2 separate regions of the Homo sapiens genome follow, and region 2 is linked to region 1. The links are contacts of gene promoters, found by promoter capture Hi-C in blood cells and fetal thymus (Javierre and others, 2016). All regions are on one chromosome and are shown on one strand. The core of a region is centred on a gene start or on the middle of the fragment in contact, and the rest is flanking DNA. Distances in the headings are between cores, read along the strand shown.

Region 1 (2,700 bases), core at 17-2,516:
TCAAAAAAAAAAAAAAAAAAAAATGGGCGTCTCACTCTGTCATCCAGGCTAGAGTGCAGTGGCACCACCACAGCTCACAGCTACCTCGACCTCCTGGGCTCAAGCGATCCTCACACCTCAGCCTCCTGAATAGCTGGGACTACAGGTGTGTGCCGCCACACCTGGCTATTTTTGTATTTTTTGTGGAGATGAGGTTTTCACCATGTTGCCCAGGGTGGTCTCAAACTCCTGGGCTCAAGCAATCCTCCTGCCTTGGCTTCCTAAAGTGCTGGGAATATAGGTGTGAGCCACTGCACCTAGCTGGGTGATTATTAATAATCATGATTGTTAATTATGTTCATGATTACAGGCGCGGTGGCTCACGCCTGTACTCCCAGCACTTTGGGAGGCCGAGGTGGGCGAATCACCTGAGGTCAGGAGTTCAAGACCTGCCTGACTAACATGGAGAAACCTCATCTCTACCAAAAATACAAAATTAGCTGGGTGTGGTGGTGCGTGCCTGTAATCCCAGCTACTCGGGGGGCTGAGGCAGGAGAATTGCTTGAACCCGGGAGGCGGAGGTTGCAGTGAGCTGAGATCGTGCCATTGCATTCCAGCCTGGGCAACAAGAGCGAAACTCCGTCTCAAAAAAAAAAAAAAAATTATGTTCATGGGAAAGCACTTTTCCTAACAAGCCCTTTTCTCACTACATGTAGCGTTTGTGCTCCCACTTCAGTTACTTGTCTTTAGGCATGACCTTTAATCTCTCTGAACCAGTTTCCTCATTTTAAGAATTGAAATGCTGGCTGGGCCAGTGGCTCACGCCTGTAATCCCAGCACTTTGGGAGGCCAAGGCGAGATGACTGCTTGAGTCCAGGAGTTCGAGACTAGCCTGGGCAACATAGTGAGGCCACCTCCCCGCTGTCTCTATAAAAAAATCTAGAAATTAGTCCCACGTGGTGATGTGCGCCTGTAGTCCCAGCTGCTTGGGAGGCTGAGGTGGGGGGATCGCTGAAGCCGGGAGGTCAAGGCTGCAGTGACCCGTGGTCATGCCGCTGCACTCTAGTCTGGGGACACAGTGAGACCCCGTATCAAAAAGAAAAATGCTGCCTATTTCAAGGTTGTAGCAAAGCTAAGTTTGAACAGAGCAAAGGAAGCGCCATAGAAGCTGCACTACTTGCTCATGTCACAGCTGGGGAATGGGGTGGTCGAATGGGGAGGTCCACTGTCGCAATGTTCCAATTCCCGCCCAGAGGGAGGGACCTCCCCTTCGAGGGAGGGCGCCGGAAGTGACGCGAGGCTCTGCGGAGACCAGGAGTCAGACTGTAGGACGACCTCGGGTCCCACGTGTCCCCGGTACTCGCCGGCCGGAGCCCCCGGCTTCCCGGGGCCGGGGGACCTTAGCGGCACCCACACACAGCCTACTTTCCAAGCGGAGCCATGTCTGGTAACGGCAATGCGGCTGCAACGGCGGTGAGTGCTGAGCCGGTGACCAGCACACTTTGGGCTTCTGGACGAGCCGTGCAGCGATTGGCCCCAGGTTGCCATCCTCAGTCGTCTATTGGTCAGAACGGCTATCTTTTTTTTTTTTTTTTTTTTTTTTTTTTTGGTCCGAGTAGCTTTTAAAGGGCCAGTAGCTCGGTTGCCCTCCGGAAGGAATGGGGAAATCAGAGAGCGGTGATACTGGGTTAAGAGTGGAAGGATTGTTTGGAACGGAACTCCGGTCCCTGCGGGCATCTGGGTGGGATTCCCATCAGGCCTGGGATGCACGGCTCTAGATTTAGTGACCCAGACCAAGAACGTTCGTCTACACAGACGGGGTCCTTTCATTCGAGGCTGGGCTGAGGCGGATGCAGATACGGCCCCTTTGGGAAGACACGTTCCACTTTTGATTCATAGGAGAGAGTATCAGCCAAGCCTCCGAACTGCACACAAACGTCTTAGAAGTGCGCCTTCTTTTTGTGTTATAGTGGTCTCCCAGCCACAGCCAACGCTCCAAGTCCCCAGCTGTGACACACCTACTGAATTACTACCGTGGGTGGGAGGCCGCCGTGGGCCTTTCCATTACGAGCCTGCTTGCCGAGCCCTGGGCTTGTGCACAGACAAACTGCAGAGCTGGTGGAGGCCACTGCCAGGCCGAGATAAGAAAGAGATGGGGAGCTGCTAATCTCCCCCTGTCCAGCCTGTTGGTGAGGGCTGGGATCTTTGCTCTTGCAGTCATTCCAGAGCCCTGGACTAGGAGTAGGAAGATCTGAATTGTGGCCCCAACTCTCTTTCGGTTATTAGCTCTGTGACCCTAGGCAAGTCACCTCATCCCTTGATGCCACCCGTTGCTTCTGTAACATGGTCCCAAAGGTGCCTGTCTTGTCCACCTGATAGGATTTTTGAGACGACAACAATATGCAAAAGCAATAGCTTCAACATAGAAGTGCTCAGTGTTTTATTTTTTAATGAAACGGTTTGACTTGGATATGCTGTGCACATTCAATGAACTTAAGGAATTGTTTGAACCTAGTAGTTCTGGGACCTTAGAGTCCTTTCTGTGGGCTCCCTGTGGCCCAGAATTTTGGTGGCCACGTTTAATATCAAGCCTAGCCTAATTTGCAAAGGGTCTCCCAGGGTTAATTTATTGGAGTGATCACATGGAGTAGACCAGAGTCTGAGGGCAGAAAGCTGTCACCTGCTTCGGCAATAGAGGCCCCAGATGTCTGGGTGCAAAAG
Region 2 (2,700 bases), core at 73-2,572, 220 kb after region 1:
GCTCCCTCCTCTCTACCTACCTCTGACCTTCTTGTGGGTGAGGGTGGCCATGCTTATGGCCATCTTAAAACTGGAGAGGCAGAGAACTACTTATGAGTCTGTAGACCACGTGTTGTCTTCCATGGCCTGTTTCTCCTGCTGTCTGGGTGAGTGAGCCTGCAACGCAATGCCCATGAGAGTAAATGCCTCCTGACCTACCCTGCTCAGCACTGTTCTAGTGTCTTGGCCTTGAAAGAAAAGCCTGACTTCCTGCTGACACATGTGGTAGGGGCATGGCAGCTATGAGGCACCTCCTACGTCTGTTTTCTGGCTGTGGTGACTTGGGATTTTTAACCTTATATATCTTTTTCCTTTACTCAAAACAAAACAATTTTTAGCACACTGAAAAAAAAAAAAAGCCAAATGTTTTGTGCCTTTCTAAGGCAGCACTGTATCCCAGGCTGCATTTTAGGACTTAATATGGAAATACCAGAGTCTGAGCTCCTCTACCTTGAGTTTCATTAGTCCTTAGTGTCTAGGAGACAGGAAAGAATGCTCTCTGTGACTGGAGAGGTGACATGCAGGTGCAGTGTGTCTGGAGTCCCTTTCCCCTGCTGTGAGACTTCAGTGGAGGAGAGAAGCATTGTACCCTGGGATCATTTGGTTGGTTCCAATCACAAGCTTAGTTATCAGGTTGCATGCCTTGTCTCCTGCAAAAGACAGAATGTTTCACAATTCCCAGGTAAACTCTGGACCATTCCAAGTGTCCTAGCCTTCTGATGACATTAATTACCTAGTTGTGTCGAGGAGTATAGGATGGACTCTCCTGAGAAGGGGAGGTTGGTGGCTTTGTCTTTTCTTTTTGCTGGATCCTGAACTGGTCTAGACCTCCTGCCCCCACCCCCCAGCCCCCATCAGATGTGGCTGGCCTTTCATTTGAAGGCTTCAGACTTAAAGCATTAAGCAGCTAGTGCCCTCTGCAGGGCCTGGTTTCCCCAGGGAAGGGCAGCAAGGAACATGGGACCAGAAGCCTGTCCTCAGTAATGTGACTATAGTGAGCTTTAGCAAAAGTTTTTCTATATAATGACATCTTACTTATCTTTTACCCTTTCCTCAGTTTTCCCCTGCCTTTAACTAATAAAGAATTGGGAGACAGAAATTTTAAAGTCCTCCTTATTCAAGATTTTGAAATTCTTAGCCTGGGAGTGCTGGAGAGAACCTGATGCTTTCTCCAGAATGAAGAGTCCCAATTTGTATATCAGTGTTAAGAAGAAAACAAAACAAACACATAGGTGAGATTTTCGTGGACTATTTTAAAAATGTGTCATTAATATAAAAAATTTATATTAGCAGTATTTAATCATTCTCACCTGTAAAGAATAAGAAAAACAGAAGGTAAATATTCTTACAGAGAATAGCAGAGCTTTAAGATTCATTTTCATTTTAAGTCCATTTTATTTTGCCAGTGTATTAATGTTTAGAAGTCTGTTTTACTAATGTTATTTATTAATTTTTTTTCATTTCCATACACAGTTAGTTAACTAAAGAGCTTTTTCAAGCACCCATGTCTGTAAAAAAATATTTTTAAATAAAGTTTCTTTTGTTGTAGCAGACTTGAGTTCTTGCTCATTCAGGGGGTTGGGAGGCAATACTCGAGTTGCCGTAGGACCAAATGCCAAGGCCCCCTTCCTCATGGCGGTGAGCCTGAGCTGCTGTCTGGAGGGCAGTTCCAAGTGGCAGGAAAGCATAGGAAGGGGACATAGCTCCTGCTAACAGCCTGCCAGGCCCTTCGTGCTGCGTCATCAGGGCAGTTTTGCTGCTGAAAAGTAGGGTGACTGTCTGCTCTGGTAGAACTTGAGCCATTTGCTCAGAAGCAGAGGTAACCCCTGATCTCTGCTGCCAACTGGAAACGGTTTTGTGTGCCTTTTGGTTGTAGTTTCACAGGCCCCCAGGTTCCTGTGGTACCCATGATGAATAAAAAGCAATGTATGATTTCTGGGACAATTAAGCTTTATTTTTCATATATATATATATTTTCATATATATATATACATACATATATAAAGGAAACAATTTGCAAATTTACACACCTGACAAAACCATATATACACACATATGTATGCATACACACAGACAGACACACACACCCGAAGCTCTAGCCAGGCCCGTTTTCCATCCCTAAGTACCATTCTCTCATTTGGGCCCTTCTAGGGTTGGGGCCCTGAGCTTGGTTTGTAGAAGTTTGGTGCTAATATAACCATAGCTTTAATCCCCATGAAGGACAGTGTAGACCTCATCTTTGTCTGCTCCCCGCTGCCTTTCAGTTTTACGTGATCCATCAAGAGGGCTATGGGAGCCAAGTGAACACGGGGGATTGAGGCTAATTCACCTGAACTCGAAAACAGCGCCCAGCTTCCTCACCGCAGGCACGTATCTTTTCTTTTTTTTTCCTCGAGACGGAGTCTCGCTGTGTTGCCCAGGCTGGAGTGCAGTGGCACGGTCTCGGCTCACTGCAAGCTCCACCTCCTGGATTCATACCATTCTCCTGCTTCAGCCTTCCGAGTAGCTGGGACTATAGGTGCCAACCACTACGCCTAGCTAATTTTTTTTTGTATTTTTAGTAGAGACAGGGTTTCACCGTGTTAGCCAGGATGGTCTCGTCCTGACTTTGTGATCCGCCCGCCTCGGCCTCCCAAAGTGCTGGGATTACAGGCGTGAGCC

Evidence for each region. The method cuts DNA at HindIII sites, captures the fragments that hold promoters and counts their contacts. A CHiCAGO score of 5 or more calls a contact.
Region 2: a fragment that was not itself captured here is called in contact with the fragment with the promoter of HMBS in region 1 in 2 of 17 cell types (total CD4 T cells and M1 macrophages); the score reaches 7.9 in total CD4 T cells.

What each region holds. Positions count from the first base shown.
Region 1 is chr11:119,083,615-119,086,314 of GRCh38, forward strand. It overlaps HMBS (hydroxymethylbilane synthase), which reads left to right and starts at 1,267. Exons shown (of 14, transcript NM_000190.4): 1 at 1,267-1,452. The coding sequence starts at 1,420. RefSeq lists enhancers at 868-1,565, 1,495-1,544. The HindIII fragment of the contact is 13,649 bases long and covers 1-2,700 here.
Region 2 is chr11:119,306,558-119,309,257 of GRCh38, forward strand. It overlaps CBL (Cbl proto-oncogene), which reads left to right. Exons shown (of 16, transcript NM_005188.4): 16 at 1-1,592. MCAM (melanoma cell adhesion molecule) reads right to left here. Exons shown (of 16, transcript NM_006500.3): 16 at 1,972-2,700. Among named protein-coding and RNA genes, the nearest start is that of MIR6756, 5.1 kb to the right of the region's middle. RefSeq lists an enhancer at 1-676. The HindIII fragment of the contact is 1,328 bases long and covers 659-1,986 here.